Regions from separate parts of the Homo sapiens genome. Here all the other regions are linked to region 7. Evidence: promoter capture Hi-C in human tissues and cell types (Jung and others, 2019). All regions are on one chromosome and are shown on one strand. Each heading gives the region's core, a stretch centred on a gene start or on the middle of the fragment in contact. The rest is flanking DNA. Distances are from core to core; before and after follow the strand shown.

Region 1 (3,653 bases), core at 1,040-3,539, 620 kb after region 7:
AGCACAGCTCATACATTTAAAACAAAACCACCAGGTAAAATGAGTTCTGGTTTAGTATAAAGAAGCTGTCACCAAGTTAGTGTTACATACATAGATGGATGTGGCTCAACAAGATTTTAGACAAAAAAATTTGAATTGAACTATGGCAACGTGTGTTGCTATGACTTAGCCTCTAGTGGGCTTATGAACAAAGACAAATTTCAGCAAATTTATCCAGTTGCTTTCAGTATCTCTAAAGATAGTATGTCAAGAATTCTCATGCTACTGTCTGAAAAAACAGATTCTTCTCTTATCTAAGAAATCAACTGGATATATTTTTATAAGCTTGTGCAAGAAAAAACTGCAATGCAGTACTAATAATTACAGACGATATAATGTGGAAAAGAATAATCTAGAATGTCAATTTCAATATGTAAGTATTTAGGTTGGGCATGGGGACTCATGCCTGTAATCCCAGCACTTGGGAGGCTGAGTCATGTGGATCACTTTAGGTCTGGAGTTCAAGGCCAGCCTGGCCAACATGGTAAAACCCATCACTACTAAAAATACAAAAATCAAGCATGGTGGGAAGCACCTGTAATCCCAGCTACTCAGGAGGCTGAGGCAAGAGAATAGCTTGAACTCAGGAGACAGAGATTGCAGTGAACTGAGATTGAAGCACCGCATTCTAGCCTGAGTTACAGAGTGAGATTCTGCCTCAAAAAAAAAAAAAAAAAAAAAGTATTTAACCTTTCACTTGAAAAATGTGATAAAATTAAGTTTTTGGTAAGCTTTGTGTAGCTTAACATCAGCATAGAGTAGAAAAAAAATCTTTAAAAATGCAAACAAAAAGCTACACCAAAAAAACTAACATCTACCAGTGCATACATATTGATCTTTGTTTTGGGAGAGTCTAAAGCAAAACATTTGGTGAACTTGATACAGTTATTTTGATCACATTGGCATACTGATAAAATCATTTTATTTAATTTCACTGAAACATGTTCACATCTTAAAAATACTGTTTTGTAACATGAATGATAAATGTAAAGTCTTTATCCTCAAGAGGATCCTGATTCTCAAGATATATGGCAACCCGTGTCTCTGGTTTCTCCAAACTGAAGTTTCATGAAGGCTCAAACATGAAGTGAGAGGGAGTCAACAACAGAGCATGAGAAGCAAGAAGGATGAGGTAGGATGGTCAGCTCTAAGGCTCAGAGGTTCCTGGGGGACCCCAATATAATGATGTCAACTATGAAGCTCACTAGTAAACATAAACATAAAAAGCTGAGGCTGGGCATGGTGGCTCATGCCTGTAATCCCAGCACTTTGGGAGGCCTAGGCAAGCGGATCACAAGGTCAAGAGATCAAGACCATCCTGGCCAACGTGGTGAAACCCCGTCTCTACTAAAAATACAAAAATTAGCTGGGCATGGTGGCGCACACCTCTAATCCCAGCTACTCAGGAGGCTGAGGCACGAGAATGGCTTGAACCCGGGAGGTGAAGGTTGCAGTGAGCCGAGATCACACCACTGCATTCCAGCCTGGTGACAGAGTGAGACTCCATCTCAAAAAAAAAAAAAAAAAAAAAAGTTGAAAACTCCATGGCTTCTCTTTGGTGAGAAAAAGTCTCTGGAATTACAAACAGTCCTGCCAAAAGGATTGAGCCAGAATGACATGTATCTAAGGATTATTAAGGAGGAATGTTCATAAGCACATAAGTATTTGTTCCAAAACTTATTACAGTAGCAATATCCTTTTCTGTAATTTTAGCTTCCCCAAGGTAGGGTTGCTGTAGACAAACTAAGACAAGGCACTAATATGTTGAAGGCAATTAGTTTCTAAATTTAAAAAACTTGCAATTTTTTTTTTTGAGATAGAGTCTCGCTCTGTCACCCAGGCTGGAGTGTGGTGGCACAATCTCGGCTCACTGCAACCTCTGTATCCCAGGTTCAAGCAAGTCTCCTGCCTCAGCCCTCCAAATACCTGGGATTACAGGTGCCTGCCACCATGCCCAGCTATTTTTTGCATTTTTAGTAGCGACAGAGTTTCACCACGTTGGCCAGGCCGGTCTCGAACTCCTGACCTCAGGTGATCCACCCACCTCGGGCTCCCAAAGGGCTGGGATTACCGGGGTGAGCCACCACACCTGGCCCAAAAACTTGCAATAATTTTATAAATTTTATTGAACTCTGTTTCATGTATAAATCTCACAAAAAGACACTATCCAGTAGCTATTTCCCTGAGACTTTTCTGGGAATTTCTGTTGCTTGATTTCAAATCAACCTTATTAGAATCCTAGTCATTTTTGAAGCCCTAGATGTAATAAAAGAAAGAGGGCAGGAATGAAACCAAGTTTCCCCAAACAGTCAATGTCTAATATATTTTGTTCCCCAAAATGACCCCAAAAACCACACAAGCTAAAAAACAGTGGGTTTGAAATTTAACCTACATTCAACAGTAGCAGAAAACCATATGTAAAAATCAGCAAAGTCATAACTTAGAAACATTCTGTTATTCCAGAAAAAATAATAAAATTCTTATTTTGGCATTTTTAAAAAAGAAAAAATACACTAAATATGACAAAATATACCAACTCACTTATATCTTTGAAATATGATTTTCTTTCTCCTAAGTATTTAATATAATATTTAGACAAGACTTTCATGTATTATAGCTACCATGCATGAACTAAAATAGCCTTGGGGGAAATAATTTTTATTAATAATGAATATTGAGGCTCCAGAAATGTAAAATGATTTATCTTGGATACACAGCTAGTGACCCAAATGAAGCTCAAATATGTTTGATTTAAAAATTTTAATTTTGCCACTGTTGACAATGTTGACATAACAGCTAAATCTGAGCCTTAGAGTTGATAGTTGGGGAATAAATCAAGTACTATTGAGGCGGGCTAGGTAATCAAGAAAGTGGCTATGTCCTGGGGATGCGGCAACCATGGTGATTGCATGACAACTGCAGACTGCCAACACAATAAGCACCAACATTTACATTGGATTTCAGCTCATTCAAGAAAAGCTCTCTCCAGCAGGGAAATTCCCCTGTAGAGAGCACAGTTTGATTTTACCTGTCCTCTAACTGACCTTTTACTCATTGTAATAGTAAAAAACACTCACGTGTGTGGAGATTTAAGATGCTAATGAGATATGTGACATATAAAGAAACATGTACAGGTACTGAGTGTGTGTACGAAGAGAACCACCCAGAACATGGTTACTAGTAACATCTCTTTCCACCTCCTTATAAATAATTATGTAAGACTCTCATAAATGGAATCTCCTTAGTTCCAGCCTTTGCTGTATCATTCTTTTTTTTTTTTTTTTTTTAATTTGAGATGGAGTTTCGATCTTGTTGCCCAGGCTGGAGTGCAATGGTGCAATCTTGGCTCACCACAACCTCCGCCACCTGGATTCAAGCGATTCTCCTGCCTCAGCCTCCCGAGTAGCTGGGATTACAGGTGCCTGCCACAACACCAGCTAATTTTTTGTATTTTTAGTAGAGACAGTGTTTTACTACGTTGGCCAGGCTGGTCTCAAACTCCTGACCTCAGGTGATCTTCCCACCTCAGCCTCCCAAAGTGCTGGGATTACAGGCGTGAGCCACTGTGCCCAGCCTGAAGTATTTTAAAATGGAGGTTGAGAGCCTTGAGATTA
Region 2 (3,907 bases), core at 949-3,448, 640 kb before region 7:
ATGAGCCATCGTTCCTGGCCCTTTTTCCATGTTGATGCTCATGGGTCTCTGCTTTCTTTTGACAGACCATTTAATTAGCAGGAAGATCAACAGGCCAAAATTTCCACCATAACTGTAAACTTGAATGTGCATGAATGGAATACAATGTGTTCAAGCCTTGCAATGAGAGGCATTATAATGTATGGTGCTATAATTGGTAGTGATTACCGGGGAGAGTTAAAGGACATTTTATACAATACCACTCCAGATTTTTTTGCTATAAGACCGCAGATGCCTGTTGCTCAATTATTAGTGGTACCTTGTCAACAATTATCCCGTGAGGAAATCTCTGCCCCAACAGAGGCTACATACAGAATTGGGGGATTCAGATCCACTCCTACAGGTAGCTTAAATCCTGGAGCCAATATATGGATACAGGGTTCAACAGATCCTGCCCCTAAGGCTGGTGACCTTGTAGCTATGAAAGCAGAAAATGAAGGCATAGTACAATTTCCTAAAGATGAAAAACAATATGTTCCCCTCTGTTTTTGTTATTACAAGGAATAACCTATCTACTAATGGTCAGCACCTGTGTCTTTGTGTCTAAAGCCAAGAATAAATTCATTTACTAGGTAGCCACTGCTGCAACAAAAGCCAATCACAGAGAATGTTGGCTGTACATCGAGTTGCCAGAGGCTGCCAGGAATGGGCTACCTTGAAGAATCGTCCCTGACAATATTTCTGAATGGCTATGTCGTTATCAATGGGGCCACAACAACAACACTTGTAATCCAACCTGGACTTCCTTTCACCACACTAAGCAATCTGTCTTTGCCCAGGTCAGACAAAAGGTGAACTCCACCCTCACCTTCCATCAAAAGCCTTGGTATTTTGCCCAATATTCCTGGAACGGTATATATTGGAAACCTGCTGTGCTGGTGGCTGGATTCCACACAGCCCCTGCTTCATCTGGAGGCCTTAAATGGCTCCTCTAATGTTACTCTGGGGTTTCTCCAGACAATTGTCAACACATACTCCAAATCAACAACATTGCCCCCAATGAACCACAATCTCTTTCCTATTTTAATAACACATTAGTACAGTATGTTTACAGTAGGTCCATGGCTGTCCCCTGGGGGGCCCTCTGGGTATGCAGATCCTGTGGGTGTTGGTACCTGCCCCCACACTGGGCAGGGAGATCACTTGTGGGTGGCCATTAATTCCATTCACCATCCGGGATAATATCCCCCTCCCAAGTAATCTGGATGCTTACAAACACCACTGGTTATGAATGTGCCGGCCTCCTTGGTGGCGATACCTTATCACAGTATTCTCCCCTGCCGCTAGAACAATCCTGCTTCACCAACAAATTAAAATATTAAGCTTATATGTAGAAAAAGCTCTTAATGATAGTAGCACTGGACTTATGCTGTTATCAGATGAATTTGCTCAGCTGCGTACTGTTGTGTTGCAAAATCAAATGGCATTAGATATGCTTACCGCAGCCCAAGGAGGGGTTTGCGCCTTACTGCATACTGGATGTTGTGTGTATATCCCTGGCAATTCTCACAATATTAGTCTCCTTGCAAAGCCATGAGTATGTTTTTTTTTTTAAATTGTGCTTTTAATTCTCCTATGCTTACCCTGTATCCATAATCTATGTCAACTATGAGTTCCCCATGTATCTATAACGGTATTTTAATACAATTGAGTACCGAATTGAGGCCGAATGTTGACGAAAAGTTAAGTATTAAATTTGAACTCAATTGAACGTGGACACAAATAAAGGTCACCAAGTCTTGGCACAGGTTGTGTGAGCCCCTTTGAGGCGTTCATTCAGCACTGTTTCAGAGAAGTCTCTATTTCAATCTATTCCTATATGTTAGTTATTGTAAAACAATAGCCAATCACAATAACAAGTTGACCTTTTTGTGTTTCTTGAGCCCAGTCACAAAGGGCCCTCGTGACTGGGCTTCATGCCAAACAACTTGTTACAAGAAGAGCTAGGGTCCCAGACCACACTAAAGCTTCAAGAAACCTCTCCTAGTCTGTGCAAGGACTGTTGGCTGACTCTGGAGCCCAGACTGTTGCTTCCTGGTCTGGTGATAAATCCTCCATAGTCTGGTGAGTGTAAATATATATATATATACACACATATATATATATATTCCCTTCTCCCCTTCCCATTGCAATTTTCTTATTATATAAATTTACTTACTATATCTGCATTGCCATTTACGTGGGATAAATCTTGTTTATCTTTAAAGGTATTTTGTGTGTATGTCTTTTCTTCTCCACTCACTCATTTCCTGCAAAGAACACCATATTTCTCAGAGCCTTTGTTGGTTCCTTTTTATTATTTTTTCTTTAATCGTGTCTGCATGCCTTATTTTAGCAAAGTGGTCTTCAAACTCTGATATCCTTCTTCTGCTTGGTCAGTTTGGCTATTGATACTTTTGTATGCTTCATGAAGTTCTCGTGCTGTGTTTTTCAGCTCCATCAGGTCATTTATATTCCTCTCCAAACTGGTTATTTTAGTTAGCAGTTCCTCTAACCTTTTATCAAGGTTCTTAGCTTCATTGAATTGGGTTAGAACATGTTTCTTTAGCTCAGCAGAGTTTGTTGTTAACCGTCATCTGAAACCTACTTCTGTCAATTCATGCATCTCATTCTCTGTTCAGTTCTGTACCCTTGCTCAAGAGACATTTTGATCATTTGGAAAAGAGGCACTCTGGCCTTTCAGCCATTTTTTGTTGATTCTTTCTCATCTTGAGTTTGTCTAGTTTCAATCATTTGAGGGTGCTGACCCTTGGATGGTTTTTTTTTTTTTTTGGACACAGTCTCTGTCACCCATGCTGGACTGCAGTGGCACCATATCAGTTCACTGCAAATTCTGCCTCCAAGGTTCAAGTGATTCTCATGTCTCAGACTACTGAGTAGCTGGGAATACAGGCATGCACAAGGATGCCTGGCTAATTTTTGTATTTTTTAGTAGAGAGGAGGTTTTACCATGTTGGCCAAAGTATTGGGATTACAGGTGTAAGCCACTATGTGCAGCCTTGGATGAGGTTTTTGTGGGTACTTTTTTTTCTTGTTGATGCTGTTGTTGTTGCTTTCTGTTTGTTTTTCTTTCAATGGTCAGGTCCATCTTCTGTAGGGTTGCTGCAGTTTGCTAGGGTTCACTTCAAGCCCTATCCATCTGGTTCACTCCCGTGCCTAGAGATGTTACTCAAGGAGGTTGGAGAACAGCAAAGAAGAATGTCTGTTCCTTCCTCTGTCATCTCTGACCTCAAGAGACACAAATCTGATACCAGTAGAATTGCTCCTGTATAGGGTGTCTGACAATTCCTATTGAAGGTGGAATGGGGAGCAGATGGGGAGCAGAACCCATTTAATGAAGCACTTTGACTGTCCTTTGGTGGAGGGAGGTGTTTTGCTGTGGGAAAATCCACTCATCTGGGCTGCTTAAATCCCTCAAAACTAGCAGGAGGAAAGGCTAAGTCTGCTGGTCCACAGAGACTGCAGCCACCCCTCCTGCTAGGGTTCTGCTCTGATCCTTGTTATTTCTTTTTTTCTGCTGGGTTTGGGTTTGGCTTGTTCTTGTTGCTCTAGTTCTTTGAGGTGTTATCTTAGATTGTCTACTTATGCTCTTTCAGACTTTTTAGTAGGCACTTGATGCTATGAACTTCCCTTTTAACACCACTATTGCTGTATCCCAGATGTTTTGTTAGATTGTGTCATTATTATTGTTCAGCTCAAAGATTTTTAAAATTTCCATCTTGATTTCATACAACAATCATTCAAAAACAGGTTGATTGTAAATTTTATGTTTTATTTAATTTCCATGTATTTATTTAATTTCCATGTATTTGCATGGTTTGAGGGTTCATTTGGAGTTGATTTTCACTTTTATCCCACTGTAGTCTGA
Region 3 (4,077 bases), core at 204-2,703, 660 kb after region 7:
CAGCTACTCAGGAGGCTGAGGCAGGAAGATTGCTTGAACCCAGGAGGTGGAGGTTGCAGTGAACCAAGATCGCGCCACTGCACTCCAACTTGATGACAGAGCGAGACTCCGTCTCAAAAAACAAAACAAAACAAAAAAGATATATCAATGAAATAAATTATTGAAGACACAAATTTTAAAATATTTCATGTCCATGGATTGAAAGAATAAATATTGTTAAAGTGTCATATTATCTAAAGTAATCTATAGCTCCAATAAACTTCCTATTAAAATTCCAGTGGCATTTTTTTCCACAGTAATAAAAAATACAATTCTAAAATTTATAAGAAACTGCAATAAACTTCAAATAGCCAAAGCAATCTTGAGGCAAAAGAACAAAGCAGAGGGGTATTATACTTTATAAGTTCTAACTATATTTCAAGAATATAGTAATAAAAACAGGATGGAATGTGCAAAAAGATTAACAAACAAAACAACGGAACAGAAAACACTACTTTCACACATTTCAGACATGATGAAAAAAGAGAACTAAAAAATAGTTTAACATAGAGTTTCCCAAAATTATGCAGATATCTGTGTGTCCCCCCAAATAATGGAAAAGTAGGGAGATTGTGCAGTCTTTTATATGCCTTGAAAAGGACTCTGGCTCTCACTGTAAACCTGAAGGAAGATCACCAAAAGGAAAGTAGAATCTTTAAAGAATTTAAAAGCATAAGACAGAAGATGCCCCTACGTGACAGCCAAAAAAAAAAAAAAAAAAAAAGCCCAAAAAACAAAAACACTCAGGCATCCCAGAAACTATTTCCTTTGGAACATAGCTTCCCAAACCACATTTTAATGACCAGCTTTCTTTTTGACCTTTGGACCTCACATCTGTGTCATCTGTTGTGTTCACTCTCACCTACCTGGGGGTTTGGCTACCATCTCATGTCTCTTTATATTCCAGGGCTCTTTTCCTTGCTCCAGACAGGTGATCAGGTCTGGCTTAGTGAGAGCAATACCTGCTTTATTAGAAATAAATAACATGAATCTTTCTCATATTCTCCAATTACCAACCTAGTACTATGCTTAGTAAAGAGGAGGTGATAGAATATTCTAGAAAATTAATCCTAACGTACTAATTAATGAGAGAAATTTCTAAATATTTAGAAAATATTTTAAATTTGTAGGTTCTTAATTTCACTACCCGGTACTCATGAATCAAAAAATTGGTGGTGATGAATGGATTTTAAAATATGGGCAAATATATATGTACATATATATACATTTATTTATTTTTGAGACGGAGTCTCGCTCTATTGTCCAGGCTGGAGTGAAGTGGCATGATCTCGGCTCACTACAACCTCCACCTCCTGGGTTCAAGCAATTCTCCTGCCTCAGCCTCCTGAGTAGCTGGGACTACAGGCGCCTGCCACCATGCCCGGCTATTTCTGTATTTTTAGTAGAAATGGGGTTTCACTTTGTTGGCAAGGCTGGTCTCAAACTCCTGACCTCGTGACCCGCCTGCCTCAGCCTCCCAAAGTGCTGGTATTACAGGAGTGAGCCACCATGCCCGGCCTAAAAACATGGGCAACAATATTTTATGACACTAAATTTCTGGAATTACCACTAATCTAGAGTGAAGGATACAGATCAGCTCAGGAATATGGAAAGTTCAGGTCAAGATGAAACATCTTGAATACATTCTTTTCCACACACAGCCTCAAGATTTTCTTGAAAAAACGGATCAGAAACTCATTTATGCAAAGCATGAATTACCAAAAATCATTCCACAAAAAAAGAGAAACCTTTACGGTATATTAGAAATTGTGTATTAAAGTTATTCTCACCCAAGAAGACCAGGTTTCTGTAGTTCTCTAACATCACTTTCCTATACAAACCCTGCTGAGCACTGTCCAGGCATTGCCACTCCTCCAGAGAGAATTCTATGGCCACATCCCTAAACGTCAATGGCCCCTGAAAAGCACAAGCACAGAGACACACATATATTTACCAAGTGGCCATGGGCAGAATTTATTATTTGAATTAAAATGAAATGACAGAGCAAAGAGAATTGGTTCTGATTAATAGAAATGACAAATTTTCCAATAATTTTTAACACAGAAATATTCTCTAAAATATTCTCTAATTCTGAGAGAAGAGAATGGCATAAGATCCACAACACCAGTGTATATATGACACTTTTCTAGATAAAGTATAAAATTAAGAGCATAAACACAAACATATACATTTTTGAGTGTTATTATTTATATCATAAAGAATGAGTTGTGTATATTTTTCAGACAAAAAAGAGATGTTGAGTTAGAAGGCACCTCCTGAATTTTAATGTTTACAATAAACTGGAAATCTTGTGCAGATTTTTTTTCAGAAGATCTGGAATGAAGTCTGAGTTTCTGAATTTCTTTCTTTTTTTTTTTTTTCTGAGACGGAGTCTCGCTCTGTCGCCCAGGCCGGACTGCGGACTGCAGTGGCGCAATCTCGGCTCACTGCAAGCTCCGCTTCCTGGGTTCACGCCATTCTCCTGCCTCAGCCTCCCGAGTAGCTGGGACTACAGGCGCCCGCCACCGCGCCCGGCTAATTTTTTGTATTTTTAGTAGAGACGGGGTTTCACCTTGTTAGCCAGGATGGTCTCGATCTCCTGACCTCATGATCCACCCGCCTCGGCCTCCCAAAGTGCTGGGATTACAGGCGTGAGCCACCACGCCCGGCCGAGTTTCTGAATTTCTAACGAGCTCACTAGTAATGCCAAAGTTTTTGGCCCCAAAAGAAAATTCTGTGAAACATCCAGTAAGTGGAAGAGCCTGTGTTTTACCAGATTTTTCTGGCCTGTAAAACAAAGAGCCTTCATTTTCCAAAGACAGCTACATGCAAAGAAAACATAAGAAAAAAGGGCAGCTGCCAGATTAAATGTGATGGCTTATGCACATTAACTGCATAAAGATGCCTAATAATGACAAGAAAAATAGTTAACTCTGTAGTGAAAGAAATATCAGAGAGCTTTTTAACCAAGTAAATTATTAATATCAACCATAGTAGGACGAATTTTTATGTTGTGCTTATGCACATAGAAGAACATAGCATCATTGCCTAGATATTGCCCCTCCAAAAGTAAATTATATTCTGAATTCAATCATACAGAAACATCAGTTTTATGCAAAGTTCAAGATACAGGTATCTCCAATGTTCTGTAATTTTCAATAATGATTTTAAGTAGTCTTTCTTCAGCACCCTATATAGCAGGTATCTCTCAATCTTTTTTCAGAACTTTCTGGGTAATAAATGCCATCCTATTTAAGTAAGTATTTTCTTAATCCTGTTCTGCATAGAGCTAATGGAGAACACAGATGGAACCTCAACATTACATATTCTCCACGTAAACCCCAGCTTTCCCCAATAGGAATCTTGAGTATCCACATCCTTCCATGTTCAACAGCCACAATGGGAACATTTTTAATAGTGCAGATCATAAATTCATGGTAGGAATTCTGCATGGCATATAAGAAGCCATGATATTGAGAATGTAGAGAAGGCTCTAGTACATAGGAAAGAAATATTTTGCATAGACCCTTGACTATCATTAGAATTTTAAAAAGTAGTTAAACTCATTAGTAAGGAAAAACACAAGTAGAGAAGTAAAGGTTTGCAAATACTAAATGCATGAGACTCTAGAAAAGAGTGGACAAAGCTCTTGATGTGAGACTTACTTAGCTGAAGAAAAAAAAACATCATTTTTCCTCTTTCTCCTTCTTCTCTTGGAATCCTTTTCAGATGAAATTCTCTAAAGAAGTAACATCTACATCTTGAGAAAACTGCCTTAAATGTGTCAGCACCACCTTCTTACCTGCTAGCACCACGCCCACAGACAGAAGGACCAAGACCAAAAAGTCCACCCATACCTCTCCCTTATAACAGAGGAGATTCAGGAAAAATGTGCTGCTCCATGGATGTAAAAATGTAAGTTTCTCCTTTCCTGTCTCAGGTGCCCTCCCCTGCCACAAACACCAGCAATTTCTGCTACAGTAATGAACATATGGGCCACACTGCCCTGTCCCTACCAAACCCAAACAGAACAGGTAT
Region 4 (3,527 bases), core at 657-3,156, 650 kb after region 7:
TTAATTTACTTATAAATGAAATTAAGTTTTCTCATAATGCAGAATATTACTCTGAATGCCTAACGCACACATTGCTTAATATTATAAGTTAACCATAAAAGTCTCTTCACTTAGATTTTCATCATACATCTCATATTTTAATGTCTTTTTCATAGCAAAGTTTATAAATAATGCTCACCTAATAAAAAAGAATCTCTCATATCTGATGCAGCAACAATTGATCACATGCTTTCACATGTAAATAGGAGTGAAGAAAAGGCAGGAAATAATTTAAGAGTTGAATTACATTATTACTCACTTTTCAAAAAATCTAATTTTTTCAAAAAGTTAAGCATACTTTGAATGCAATAACTGCAAAAAATTTCTACTTTTAAAGTTATATACAAATATTTTACCAATTTTAGTTTTAGATTATTTTCTATACTCAGCACTCTGATTTAGTAAAATACCTGAAGCATCAGTGCCTTACATATTTCTACTGTAAATTCTCTGATATTTACAGACTTAATGATTAAAATTTTTAAAAAATTTTTCCTGTATCTGCAAAAATATGTTTTAGTATGAACTCTCTGGTGTTTTCTAAGCTGTAGTTTTTGAAAAAGTATTTTTCCAACTTTATTACATTCGCACAGTTTTTTTCAATATAAATTCCCTGATATTGAACAAAGTTTGAGCAACTGCTTCAGAGGTTTCCTCTAATACAAAACGTGTACAGTAAGATCTGTGATACAAGTAAACATATTACAATTCTACTACAATGTTCTTCTTCAAAATACTCTTCACTTTAAAAGCTTATATTTTCTTAAAGATATTTTGACAGTAGTTGCACTTATGTTTTTATTGAGTATGAACTCTCTGATGTTGAGTAAGATGTGAGCATGTATTAATGGCTTTTTCACAGTCTTTATATTTGTACAATATTTCTCAAGTATAAATGCTTTCCTGTGAAGGTGTGAGCATTAGTTAAAAGTTTTGTCACACTGTTCACACATGTAGAAGTTTTCTCCAGTATAACTTACCTTACCTACAATCAAGTGTGACAACCATTTAAAACTTTATCACATTCTTCACATTTCTAGGATTTCTCAACACTATGATTTATGTTTTGAAAAGTTTGAGGTGTTTTCAAAGCACTGTCACATCTTTCTGGTTTGTAGAATTTCTCTCTAGTATGAATTATCTTATGTCTGTTAGGAATTGAGAATTTATTAAAGGCTTTGCCATATTCTTCACAGTCACAGGAGTTCCCTCCAGTATGAATTTTTTTATGTTTAGTAAGAGTTGAGGACTGGTAAAAGGCTTTGCCACATTTTTCACATTTGTAGGGTTTCTCTCCAGTATGAGTTATTTTGTTTAATAAGGCTTAGGGACTGGTTAAAGTCTTTACCACATTCTTCCCATTTGTAAGATTTCTCTCCAGTATGAGTTATCTTATGTTTAGTAAGGGTTGAGGATCGGTTAAAAGCTTTGCCACATTCCTCACATTTGTAGGGTTTCTCTCCAGTATGAATCATCTTATGTGCAGTTAGTTGTGAGGACCGGTTAAAGGCTTTGCCACATTCGTCACATTTGTAGGGTTTCTCTCCAGTATGAATCATCTTATGGGTAGTAAGGTTTGAGGACTCATTAAAAGCTTTGCCACATTCTTCACATTTGTAGGGTTTCTCTCCAGTATGAATTCTCTTATGTTTAGTGAGGGCTGAGGACCAGTTAAAGCCTTTGCCGCATTCTTCACATTTGTAGAATTTCTCTCCAGTATGACTTGTCTTATGTTTAGTAAGGTATGAGAATCGGTAAAAAGCTTTGCCACATTCTTCACATTTGTAAGGTTTCTCTCCAGCATGAGTTATCTTATGTGTAGTAAGGGTTGAGGACTGGTTAAAGGCTTTGCCACATTCTTCACATTTGTAGGGTTTCTCTCCAGTATGAATTATCCTGTGTGTAGTAAGGTGTGAGGACCGGTTAAAAGCTTTGCCACATTCTGTACATTTGTAGGGTTTCACTCCAGTATGAATTCTTTTATGTGTAGTAAGGTGTGAAGACCGGTTAAAAGCTTTCCCACATTCTTCACATCTGTATGGTTTCTCTCCAGTATGAATTATCTTATGTGTAGTAAGGTGTGAGGACCGGTTAAATGCTTTCCCACATTCTTCACATTTGTAGGGTTTCTCTCCAGTATGAATTCTCCTGTGTGTAGTAAGGGTTGAGAACCAGTTGAAGGCTTTGCCACAATCTTTACATTGGTAGGAATTCTCTGTAATATGAAATCTTTTATGTTGAGTTAGGTGTAAAAGCATGCAAAATGATTTTTCACATTTTTTACATTTGAAAGGTTTCTTTCTAGTATGTCTTATCTTATGTCTGTTTGAATTTGAAAATGTATGAAAGACTTTTGCAGATGGATCACATTGAAATATGTTGCTCTGGGTAGTTATCAAACACTGGTTTAATTTGTTATCATGTTCTTTGTGCACTTTACACTCATCCACACTTTTACAGCCTTTTTGTAACTGTAAATTGTCATGTCCATATTTTCCATATTTTTTCAGAATCGCTTCTTGAAAAGAATCTTTAATGTCCTGCTCTGCCCAAAGGTCTTGGGGAAAATGAGAACATATAACTGAAAGAAATAAAAATAACAAATTACTTTACTTACTAGACACAGATAGTTTACAAATCTAACCTCTAATATACAAACTACATAAATAAGATGGCATAGGAAAATACCAAAGGCCCTCATTCCTTTATAGACATATAAATGTAAAAAAAAAAAAACCAACCAAATTACATCTGAAAAAAATTATAAATGAGTTAAGTGTGTGAAGTGCCCCTGGTGAGAACAATGCAAAGAGCCACTTAGAAGTAAAAGTCTGTACATTTACCCAACAGAGCTCTTTCTGCTCCCCAATATAACATACTGTCTTTAGAAGTAAATTGCCAACTTGTTTTTAATGACAAGTAAAATACTGGCACATTTATCTTTATTACTTGCTTCTAGGAGCCTTTCCAGACACTGGTTTGTGTCTCTCTTGAAATATAATGCTGAAAGAAACGGTGGTATACTTTGGAGTGACAGTCTTAACTTTGCTGAGACCAAAGGTAAATGTTTCAGCAACAGAGAGACTGCTGTACCACAGACAGAAAACAGGTGTAGCACGTGATTATTATTAAGAAGAAACATGAATAAACTCCTTTAACTAAAAGAGAAAGACAAAATCTCAGACAAGACACATTCTAAGAACATGTTTGAGAGACTCCCAGAATCTCTAACCAAGACGATTGTTCAGACTATGCCAGGACAAAGCTACATTATAAAGATTGTGACAGGTAGCCTTTTTTAATGTCCAAATTTCAATCAAGGATTACAATGTATACAAAATAAGGCAATATGGTTCCATAAAAATATAAAATTTTAAAAAAGAAACTATAAAAAAGATGTATACACACCGATTTTAAAAATTGAAAATAAATTGAATAATACTCAGTGAGTGAAACAGGAAGACAGAGAACTATAGAAAATCAGAAAA
Region 5 (3,701 bases), core at 678-3,177, 520 kb before region 7:
CCAAACTCCTGACCTTGTGATCCACCTGCCTCGGCCCCACAAAGTGCTGGGATTACAGGCATGAGCAACCATGCCCAGCTTTTCTAGGGTAATTTTATTAGAAAATAAATATGTACATGTAGCAAGGTAAAAGAAATAGAAATTATATGGCCAGGAGTGGTGGCTGATGCCCATAATCCCAGCACTTTGGGAGGATGATGTGGGTGGATCACGACCTCAGGATTTCGAGACCAGCTTGACCAGATGGTGAAACCCCATCTCTACTAAATATACAAAGATTAAAAAAAAGATATATATAAATTAGCTGGGCATGGTGGCTGGCACCTGTAATCCCAGCTACTCAGGAGCCTGAAGCAGGAGAATCGCTTGAACCAGGGCAGCAGAGGGCAGCAGTGAGCCAAGATCACACAACTGCACTCCAGCCTGGGTGACAGAGACTCCGTCTCAAAAAAAAAAAAGAACCTATAATAACAATTCTTCTGTTCATAAATATGCCTTCAGATGTAGACATCAGAAGTCTCAAAAATATAAAGAAAGTGGCCTAAATAAAGCCCAAGGTGTTGGACACATCTATGTATTGCACCAACCATATGATGCACAATTCAATTATTTATCCAGTTGCTAGTCTAGACTAAAAGCTTCTGGATTGTAGGAAAAAAGACTGCTGCATAGTTTTTTTTTAATGGCCATATAAAATGGAAGCAACTAGTTTATCCATTTGGGTCTCCAGATCTTTTCCTTCTTTACCATCCAAGTACTAGGAAACTGGAGAAACTCTCATCTGGGTACCAACCAAAGACACCTCTTGTATGAGGGGATGAAAAAACACAGGATGACTCATTTCCCTTACACTGAGACAGAAGCAGAATTAACCACTCTTATCAGCCTAACACAATTCTGCTCTGAACATCCTCAAATGCCTCAAAGACACCCAGGTGATTGTGAGGGAATTTCCAGTGACCCTGGGCTGATGGCCCAATGATAAGCCAGGCTAGAGAGACTCAGGCTGAAGACCAATGCAACAGAATAGAGAGCCCAGAAATAATGCCACCCTCCTATAACCATCAGATTTTTGACAAAGCTGACAAGGGAAATGTGGGAAGAATTCTCTCTTTAATAAATGGTGCTGGAATAACTACCTAGCACTATGTAGAAGACTGAAACTAGCTCACTTCATTACAGCATATACAAAAATCAACTGAAGATAAACACTTAAATGTAAGCTTAAAATTATAAGAAACACTGCATGAAAACCTAGGAAATACCATTCTAGACACAGAAACTGGCAAAGAATTCATGAGGAAGCTACCAAAAGCAACTGCAACAGAAGCAAAAATTGACAAATGGGACCTATTTAAACTAAAGCGCTTCTTCACAGCAAAGGAAACTATCAACAGAGGAAAAAGACAACCTACAGAATAAAAGAAAATTTTTGCAAACTTTGCCTCTGACAAAGGTCTAATATCCAGAATTTATTAGAAACTTAAACAAGTTTAAAAGACAAAACCAAACGACCTCATTAAAAAGTAGGCAAAAAAGATGAACACTGCTTTTCAAAAGAAAATATACATGTGGCTAAGTACCTGAAAAAAATGCTCATCGCTAATCACGGGAGAAATTAAAAGAAAAACCACATGTGGCTAAGAAGTACTTGAAAAAAATGCTCATCACTAATCACTAGAGAAATTAAAAGAAAAACAACAACGAGATATCACTTCACACCAGTCAGAATGGCTATTTTCAAAAAGTCAAAAAATAATAGATGCTGGCAAGGTTGCAGAGAAAACGGAATGCTTATACTCTGCTGGTGGGAGTGTAAATAGTTTAACAACTGTAAAAAGCAGTGTGGCGGTTCCTCACAGAACTAACAACAGAATTATCATTTGACCCAGGGATCTCATAATTGGGTATATACCCAAAGAAACATAAATTATTATATTATAAAGACACATCCACATGCATGTTCACTGCAGCACTATTCACAATAGCAAAGATAAGGACAGGCCCTAAATACCTATCAGTGGTAGACTGGGTAAAGAAAATATGGTATGGTCAGATGCAGTGGTTCACGCCTGTAATCCCAGCACTTTGGGAGGCCGAGGCGGGTGGATCATGAGGTCAGGAGATCGAGACCATCCTGGCTAACAAGGTGAAACCCCGTCTCTACTAAAAATACAAAAAATTAGCCGGGCGCGGTGGCGGGCGCCTGTAGTCCCAGCTACTCGGGAGGCTGAGGCAGGAGAATGGCGTGAACCCGGGAAGCGGAGCTTGCAGTGAGCCGAGATTGCGCCACTGCAGTCCGCAGTCCGGCCTGGGCGACAGAGCGAGACTCCGTCTCAAAAAAAAAAAAAAAAAAAAAAAAATTGGCCAGGTGTGGTAATGCCCGCGTGTAGTCCAAGCTACTTGGGAACATGAGGTAGGAGAAAATTGCTTGAGCCAGGGAGGTTGAGGCTAAAGTAAACCAATATCATGCCATGGCACTCTAGCCTGGGCAATAAGGGAGACTCTGTCTCCAAAAATAAAATGAAATAAAAGATTTAGTCAAAATAAAATATGGTATATAAACCTCATGGAATACTCTGTGGCCATTAAAAAAAAAAATCATGTCCTTTGCAATAACGTCAATGAAGCTGGAGACCATCATTCTTAGAAAACAAATGCAGAGGCCTGGCGCAGTGGCTCATGCCTGTAATCCCACCACTTTGGGAGGCCAATGTAGGTTGATCACTTGAGGTCAGGAGTTCGAGACCAGCCTGCCCAACATGGAGAAAAGCCATCTCTACTAAAAATACAGAATTAGCTGGGTGTGGTGCCATGTGCCTGTAATCCCAGCTACTCAGGAGGCTGAGGCAGGAGAATCACTTGAAACTGGGAGACGGAGGTTGTGGTGAGCCGAGATCACACCATTGCACTCCAGCCTGGGCAACAAAAGTGAAACTCCGTCTCCAAAAAAAAAGAAAGAAAGAAAAAGAAAATACTGTAGAAACAGAAAACCAAATGCATGTTTTTATTTATAAGTAACAGCTAAATAATAAGAACACACAAACACAAAGAGGAGAACAACAGACGCTGCGGCCTAGTTGAGGGTGGAGGGTGGAAGACTAAGAGAATCAGAAAACATACCTGTTTGGTGCTATGCTTAATACCTCAGTGACAAAATAATCTGCACGCAAAACCCCCATGCACCAAAACAAACTCATGTGTACCCCAAAACAAAAATAAAAGCTAAAAGAAAAAATTAAATCCCTGGGTGGGAGAGATTGCAATGTAGGTGAGAGGACTGATTTTTGCTACAGATAGTTGTCCTGGTGCAGCTGTACTCTGATTTATTACTGTGTGCACGCAGACATATGAGATTATGAACAGCTGATTCAAAATGCTAGGTTGGTGGAGAAAACAGATTGCTGCTGCAGATTTAGTGTCTGGGGGTGGGGATACGCCAGGAGACTTGTAGAGACTTGTGGGTTCTTGGCAAGAAACACTAGGATCAAAAACGCCGTGGTGAAGGTCCTGAGGGTGGTGCCTACTCCTGGGAGGAGGGTGGACATGTCAATGTCTAGTGTGTGTGTTTGTGAGTGGGTGGGAATCCTGTGGTGGCAGCTGTGGGAAAAGGGGGTCTGTCATCAGAGCTCCTTTCTTCTAAGTTTTCAGTCCTCTGTCACCCTGGGAGAAGACCTGGAATCACAGGACAATGGGCAGTG
Region 6 (3,581 bases), core at 587-3,086, 670 kb before region 7:
CATACCTGATTCTGGCCTCCCCTTAGAGTCACGTGAAGCCCTTCATTAAAACAACATGGATACTTCCACCCAGAACAATAAACAGAACCGGTGGGGAAGGCACAAGAGATTTCTGCAAATTGGCCATGTGATCCTAATGAGAAGCCTGGGCTGATAACCACTAAGCTAAGCATTGCCTCTCAAGCTTTAAGAAGCTTATAAATCACTTGGTAATTTTGACTCCACTTTATGTGATTCTGTAGGTTTGAAAAGGGTCCATAAATGGGTGTTTTAAACAAGTCCCCTGTCAATGCTGATGTTGCTTCTCCTTGGCTCATTATTAGCATTAGAGAAAGCAGGAATAGCAGAGGGTCCCTTACACTTAGAACTCTTGTCACAACCAAATACTTCTGGTACAAATAAGGACAACACATCTATGCTAAAGTTTTATATTCTTTGCTGGGTCTTTAAAGTTTACAGAGGAAACAGAAGGCAGCAATGTCTGGATAAGTCTGCATTTAAAAAACATGTACACATGTACAAATGCAATGTTTATTAAGCAGGTACTTTGTGCTCAAGAGTATGATACAGAGCACTATGCTGGGCATAACATATTATGTGATTTAATTCTTGTAACATTCTTGGAGCTAGTACTCAGGGTTTAATAATTTCCAGGATTTAGATAAAGGGCAGAGAATTTTTACTGCCTCTTCTGTTTCTCTGTTACCAAATTTTTTTAAACATTGTAAAGAATAAAAGCTAAATATATACAGATGAAAGAGATATAGAAGAGTTTATTGTAGTTTAGAGAAAATTTTATTCTGTTTATGTTTACTTTTCTGTGACTTGTGGAGCAACTACTGGATCTGCAGGAATAGAAAACAAGTTGCTAAATAGAATGTCTCTGCCAACACTGGTTTTAACAGAAAATTTAAAAACTAAGACTCTACAATACATACTTTATTTTTCCCATTTATCTGCTTTTGGGTTTCAGGAAATTGGATTCACCAGCCAAAACTCTGATATCTTCTAATCAGTTCTGTGAGGCAAGACTCCAGAGTAGGGTCAGACCTAAATAAGGCCTCCAAAAAGGGTGAATCTGAACATGTCTGGGACAAGGTGAGGATCCTATAGAATTCTGTTCTCTATGCCACTGTGGTACTAACAGTTTTCTTTTTTTCTAATCTTACCTAAAAGAAAAACCCCAGAGTTTCTGTAATTTTAATATTTTCTAGCACTGCTCTGTCAACTTTATACTGTATACTAATATGCAATTTAAACAATTCTCTTAAGGTTTTCTAGGGTAATTTTATAAGAAAATCAGTGTGTACACTTACGAAGGTAAAAGAACAGAAATTATACGGCTGGGCACAGTGGCTTACACCTATAATACCAACACTTTGGGAGGCTGAGGTAGATGGATCATGAAGTCAGGAGTTCATGACCAGCCTGACTAAGATGGTGAAACCTCTTCTCTACTAAAAATACAAAAATTAGTTGGCTGTGGTGGGAGGCACTGTAATCATAGCTATTTGAGAGGCTGAGGCAGGAGAATCGCTTAGACCCAGGTGACAGAGGTTGCAGTGAGCCAAGATCATGACACAGCATTCCAGGCTGGGTGACAGACTAAGACTCCATCTCAAAAAAAGAAAAATTAATTATAACAATTCTACTGTTCATTAATATCCCTTCAGGTGGTAGGTACCATGACTGCTTCATGTATTTTTTTTTAATGACCATAAGAAATGGAAGCAACTAGTTTATCTACTTGGGTCTCCAGATCTCCTTGTTTATCATCCAAGTACCAGGAAACTGGAGAAACTCTCATCCCTGTACAAACCAAAGACAACTCTTGTATGATGGGTTGAACAAACACAGAATGACTCATTTTTCTTTACACTGAGACAGAAGCAGAATTAACCACTCTTGTCAGCCTGACACAATTCTACTCTGGACATCCTCAAATGCCTCAAAGAAACCTAGGTGATTGTGAGGGAATTCCCAGTGACCCAGGGCTGATGGCCCAATGATAAGCCAGGCTGGAGCGACTCAGGCTGATTCTAAATAGAAAATAAAACTGCGTTGGTGGAGCCCCAGAACCTGGGTCACCTGTCCTGATATGCTAGCACTTGGGTAAAAGACAGAACAAAAATACTCTACTCCAGTATCCCATTTTACAGGTAAACATAGTTGTGGTCATGGCTCTGGATACTTTGTGGCCTGATCTCTCACTCCTAAGATGATTATTTACACTTACAGATTCTGCCATCAGATTCTATTTCCTCCTGGAGCCTCTCACATCACTGTAGCAGGTCAATGAAAAAGATGTAAAAAAACTCAAAATGCCACACTCTGAAATGGGGGCTGTAAGATGTCTATCTTGACAACTTACAATGCAGAAAATAACTTTTGTTAATTTTCTGTACATTCCATATCCAAAGTCTGGCACTTTTTAAATCCCAGGCAGAGGCCGGACCTAATCTGTAGATTCTAGATAGGATCAACCTGGCTCTGCATCCTTTGGTGTTACAGCAAATGGAGTACAATCAAAGGAGAGTACCCTCATAGAGGCTGCTCTAGAACATTCTAAGTGATAAGTCTAAATAAAAAAAGCTGACATATCAAGAATATAAGTAGACAGTTTATTTGGTTTAAGCTTAAGGATTATAACCAGGGAGCAAAGATTCAAGTTGCCTGAAATCTACACTTTGATTAGCAGCAGTTACAAGATTTGTAAAGACAAGAGAGGGACATAGAGTGGTCTGATACAAAGTTGTTTGTCAGAAGTTTTTATTTATTTAGATAAATAATATTGATTATTGATTAGATATATATCATTATTGTTTAGGGTATAGAATATAGTATCCAATGTGGCATTGTTAATTTACTTTATAGCTACTTGTGGCAATAGTGAACAGTTTCAAGGGATGAATACATAGTTCAAAGGGGAGAGAAAGATGTTAACTGCTCTTTCATTTTAACATCTCTCTGAGTTTGATAACCAAAAGTGCTTGCACTTTTTAGATAAAAGTTTTTTATTTCCCAAATCTCAAGATCTGGATTCAAAATATGGAGCTACAGATTTAGGTCCTGAATGGCAGGAGTAGCAGCAGGTGTTACTTGCACATTAGTGAGCATTTCAGCAAGAGTAGAAAGGGGATAGTGGAGACTTTCTTGTCTACATGTCTACTCAATTCACATGTTACTCCAGTTCAGTTTGTTGGCCCCACGGTCTCTGAATCTGTTTAAGGTCTGAAAATACAAGAGTCATTGAAAGAGAAAAAATTATTGATTGCTTCCCTGTGAAATTTGTAGAAATCTGATCTAGTCTCTCTAGCAGTGACTGTAAAGGACTCTAGATACCAAATAGGCAGGGACACAATTCTGCCTTCATATTTAGGGGACAGCATGCACTTTGCTGCACAAGTGTGAGTTGACTGGAAGCCTGAGAGGAATAGTCCCCTCTAGAGTAAGTTCCGGTTGGCACCTTATTTGTGTTTATATCATGTCTGGTAATTCTAGACAGTGTTTGGAAACAATAATTAAAAGACAGATTTTATCCAGCTCCAGAGAAACTCCACAATAATAGAACAGAAAGAAAA
Region 7 (3,609 bases), core at 907-3,406:
GTTATTCTGCTTCTAATCCATATTATTACAGTAATGCACAGACACGGGATCATAAAAGAACTTGCAAGCTTTTTAAAAAAGTGTTATATTTTACACATGTGTGTATGTATTTGTAGACAGCTCTGTCATCTTGGCCAGAGTGCAGCTCAATCAAACCTCAAAATTCTTAGCTCTCAGCCTCCTTGGTAAATGGGACTTCACGTACACACCACTACAGTGGCTAATTAATTTTTTTTTTTTTTTTTTTTTTTTGTAGAGATGGGGTCTTATTATGTTGCCCAGGCAGCTCTTTTTTTTTTTTTTTTTTTTTTTGAGACAGAGTCTCCCTCTGTCGCCAGGCTGGAGTGCAGTGGCGCGATCTCGGCTCACTGTAACCTCCGCCTCCCGGGTTCAAACGATTCTCCTGCCTCGGCCCCCCGAGTAGCTGGGAATACAGGCGTGCGGCATCACACCCAGGTAAGTTTTTGTATTTTTGGTAGAGACAGGGTTTCACCTTGTTAGCCAGGATGGTCTCGGACTCCTGACCTCTTGATCCACCCACCTCGGACTCCCAAAGTGCTGGGATTGCAGGCGTGAGCCACCGTGCCTGGGCGATTCTATTTTATTCGTTGATCTTTTGTGGTGCTTTTACAATTTTACATCTACATATTATAAATCCAGTAACAAAGAGTCATAATTGTTGCTTTTAATAGTGATAGGTTGCTTTAAAACTGAAGGGTACAATTTAGTCAGATACTTTGGTGCTATGCAAATACAATGCTTATTTTTTAAGTGTTATTTACAATTTTTACACTCCTCAGTTAACCTTGGATACAATAATAACTGGTGGTTTTGTGATGGTTTCTTTAGCATTTTATCTATGTTGATTAGTATTTGGAATTCTGTAAAAAAAAATTTCCCTATCCTTTTTTCTTTTTTATTTATTTAAAGTTTTTTGTGTATCAGTGTAAATGCATGGGTATTTATTTATTTGACTTGATTTATTTTATAGGTCAGTGCTCTAATTATTCATTTGGATGCTAACATTGTTCCAGGATGGACCATTGGGAGTTCTTTCAGGCTGGCTCCCTTTGACATGTTCCCATCATTTTTTAAAATTAAAAAAAAAGAAAGAAAAAACATTTTGAGGCTGGGTGCGGTGGCTCACGCCTGTAATCCCAACACTTTGGGAGGCCAAAGCGGGCAGATCACCTGAGGTCAGGAGTTCAGGACCAGCCTGGCCAACATGGTGAAACCCCGTGTCTACTAAAAATACAAAAAATTAGCCGAGCATGGTGGCGCGCGCCTGTGATCTCATCCAGCAGTGCTTTACTTGTAATTATTTTATTCCTGCTGCCGTCTCCTCTTTCTTTGGCCACTATCTGTTCCACCCCCGGAACGGAAGAGAGATGTTGGTAGGGAGAGGCTCTTCCTTCACCTCTGGCAGAAAAGGTTTGCTTGGGCCCTTCACACCGCTGACATCAGAGCTGCACTTCAATGTGGCAGTTATTGGCCATGTGTGGCGCCTGGTCTGAAGTGCGATGCTAGAAAGGTAAAATACAGAGTTAGTTTCAAAGATTTAGTTCCAAATATTTATATACTTTATTAATAATTACATATTTCTCACACATTAAAATGAAAATTTTTTTGATATATTGGGTTAATTAAATTGTTACAATCAATTCAACCTGTTCTTGTTTCTTTTTCAAGTTTGGCTACTAGAAAACTTAAAATTCACATATGGCTCACATTTTATTTCAGAGGATTACCTCCTTTCTAAAATCTCAGCCTGCCTGCTCAAAGACCAGAAAGAAGCCAGGAAGGTCATAAAATCTGAAATTTTAAAATAATTGTTATTATAAAATTATATTTTTTCCTTTGTGAAGAGCCATATATTATTTATAAATGCATATGACTTTACACACAAGTTTAAAGGCAAATTCCCTCTGGGGTGGGCCTGGCTCAGCTCTGGGAGGAAGCCCTGCCTGAGAAGGCTGCAGCCTAGGCTGTCACCCTTTCTTCACTCAGCCCAGCAACTGATCACATCTTCTGTCACTCAGGGCACGAGAAGGTGGGGTTTTAAAAGTTATCCAATCAGCGACGCTGGGTTGGGAACCGTCCAATCAGGCCTGCAGCTGGAGCGGACAGGACGGCTTCGGGGATGTGGCGGGGCCTTTGTCTCTCGCTGCAGCTGGAGCTGCAGGTCTCGCCTTCACTGCCCTGTGTCCTCTGCTCGCAGAGGCCCAGCCTCTGTGGCCCTGTGACCTGCAGGTATTGAGAGATCCACAGCTAAGACGCCAGGTACCCCGGAAGCCTAGAAATGGTGAGAGTGCCGGGTCCGACATCCCGAGAGAGGGGAAGGGGCGGGTTGTAAGCGGTGGGAAGTGGCTGTGGTGGGACTTAGGCCTCCCCGCAGTCAACTCTACAATCTGCGCCCGGAGTTCTCCTTGCTCAGCTCGGCCTCAGTCCCCTTCAGCCATAAGATGGCGGCTGCGCTGACTGCGGGATCCCGGGCGTCCTGTCTTTTCCCTGCGCAGTGACTGGGCCCTGACCTGGAGTCCTCTCAGGGCAGCTCTGGACCCTCAGCGGCGCGTCTCTCCCGGATTGTGCAGGGACCACTGGAGGGTCCCAGGGGTAGAATCCTGACTCGGGGTGCGGGTTTATGAATGGGTCCGTGGGGTTCCAGTTCCTCTTCTGTTGAAAATGTATGGGAGTCACCGTTAAAACACTAAAGCATTTAATCAAAGCGTGATTCAAAAATTGTGGAGCACCCAGCTGTGGTTTGTAATTTATGGTTTATGGGCGGGGCTTGAAGTAAAGACTTTTATAAACAGCATGATGAAGAAAACCAAATTCAGTAATTGGTTAGGTTCAGATACATAGTTTCTTAATTTGTAAAATAAAGGTGAAAATTTCCTGGTTATGTAATTAGATGTTAATTGGCAGTTTATAGTTGGTTAAGGATGAATTTTGTTTCTCTCAATGTAGTAATTTACTAAAAATGCACCTCAGTTAGATTTTTTTTTTTTAAGATGGAGTTTCGCTCTTGTTGCCCAGGCTGGAGTGCAATGGGGCGATCTTGTCTCACCGTAACCTCTGCCTCCCGGGTTCAAGCGATCCAATGCTTCAGCCTCCCAGGTAGCTGGGATTACAGGCATGCGCCACCACGCCCGTCTAATTTTGTGGTTTTAGTAGAGACGGGTTTCTGCATGTTGGTCAGGCTGGTCTCGAACTCCCGACCTCAGGTGATCTGCCCTCCACGGCCTCCCCAAAGTGCTGGGATTACAGGCGTGAGCCACCGCGCCCAGCCAGATTTTTTTAAAAGTAGGAATCCAGGGACTAGAGACACCTCAGTCTAATTTCCCGCCGCTTAATTATTTTCACACTCCATGGGGAACTGATTTTCTGGTGCATTTTTCAACTGTGTCCCAAGCACTGTCTTAAATCTAACCTCCCGTCCCCCATATCTCCAGCCTCACTCTGGCTTGCAGTAAGATATTAAATTTCCAGTTCCTCCTGGCATTCCCTAATGCCAGCTTTTCCTCCCTAATTCACGTTATCACCTGTTTGTCTTTTAGTGTACTTTTGTATACCATATTTTAATTAATTATTTTTTGACAAAGCTTTAAA

What was found. Contacts are between HindIII fragments. The study calls those that stand out against the background at their distance.
Region 1: a fragment that was not itself captured here is called in contact with the fragment with the promoter of ZNF714 in region 7 in 1 of the 25 tissues and cell types used here (aorta).
Region 2: a contact is called between a fragment that was not itself captured here and the fragment with the promoter of ZNF714 in region 7, in 1 of the 25 tissues and cell types used here (stomach).
Region 3: a contact is called between a fragment that was not itself captured here and the fragment with the promoter of ZNF714 in region 7, in 1 of the 25 tissues and cell types used here (dorsolateral prefrontal cortex).
Region 4: a contact is called between a fragment that was not itself captured here and the fragment with the promoter of ZNF714 in region 7, in 1 of the 25 tissues and cell types used here (heart left ventricle).
Region 5: a fragment that was not itself captured here is called in contact with the fragment with the promoter of ZNF714 in region 7 in 6 of the 25 tissues and cell types used here (H1 embryonic stem cells, adrenal gland, hippocampus and 3 more).
Region 6: a fragment that was not itself captured here is called in contact with the fragment with the promoter of ZNF714 in region 7 in 1 of the 25 tissues and cell types used here (hippocampus).

Annotation. Positions count from the first base shown.
Region 1 is chr19:21,701,546-21,705,198 of GRCh38, forward strand. No RefSeq gene overlaps it. Among named protein-coding and RNA genes, the nearest start is that of ZNF100, 64 kb to the right of the region's middle. The HindIII fragment of the contact is 3,485 bases long and covers 548-3,653 here.
Region 2 is chr19:20,435,508-20,439,414 of GRCh38, forward strand. All of the region lies in intron 1 of LOC105372317 (a long non-coding RNA gene), which reads left to right. Among named protein-coding and RNA genes, the nearest start is that of MIR1270, 38 kb to the left of the region's middle. The HindIII fragment of the contact is 4,344 bases long and covers 27-3,907 here.
Region 3 is chr19:21,743,112-21,747,188 of GRCh38, forward strand. It overlaps ZNF100 (zinc finger protein 100), which reads right to left. Exons shown (of 5, transcript NM_173531.4): 3 at 1,830-1,956; 4 at 906-1,004. Among named protein-coding and RNA genes, the nearest start is that of ZNF100, 22 kb to the right of the region's middle. The HindIII fragment of the contact is 6,742 bases long and covers 1-4,077 here.
Region 4 is chr19:21,725,370-21,728,896 of GRCh38, forward strand. It overlaps ZNF100 (zinc finger protein 100), which reads right to left. Exons shown (of 5, transcript NM_173531.4): 5 at 1-2,620. The coding sequence ends at 1,314. Among named protein-coding and RNA genes, the nearest start is that of ZNF100, 40 kb to the right of the region's middle. The HindIII fragment of the contact is 4,592 bases long and covers 1-3,527 here.
Region 5 is chr19:20,557,835-20,561,535 of GRCh38, forward strand. The region is part of intron 1 of ZNF737 (zinc finger protein 737); the gene reads right to left. The region is part of intron 2 of LOC105372316 (a long non-coding RNA gene); the gene reads left to right. Among named protein-coding and RNA genes, the nearest start is that of ZNF737, 6.1 kb to the right of the region's middle. The HindIII fragment of the contact is 6,645 bases long and covers 1-3,701 here.
Region 6 is chr19:20,412,421-20,416,001 of GRCh38, forward strand. It overlaps LOC124904663 (a long non-coding RNA gene), which reads right to left. Exons shown (of 2, transcript XR_007067167.1): 2 at 2,601-3,231. It also overlaps the pseudogene ZNF826P. Among named protein-coding and RNA genes, the nearest start is that of MIR1270, 15 kb to the left of the region's middle. The HindIII fragment of the contact is 3,294 bases long and covers 190-3,483 here.
Region 7 is chr19:21,080,047-21,083,655 of GRCh38, forward strand. It overlaps ZNF714 (zinc finger protein 714), which reads left to right and starts at 2,157. Exons shown (of 5, transcript NM_182515.4): 1 at 2,157-2,302. RefSeq lists an enhancer at 2,496-2,645. The HindIII fragment of the contact is 9,806 bases long and covers 1-3,609 here.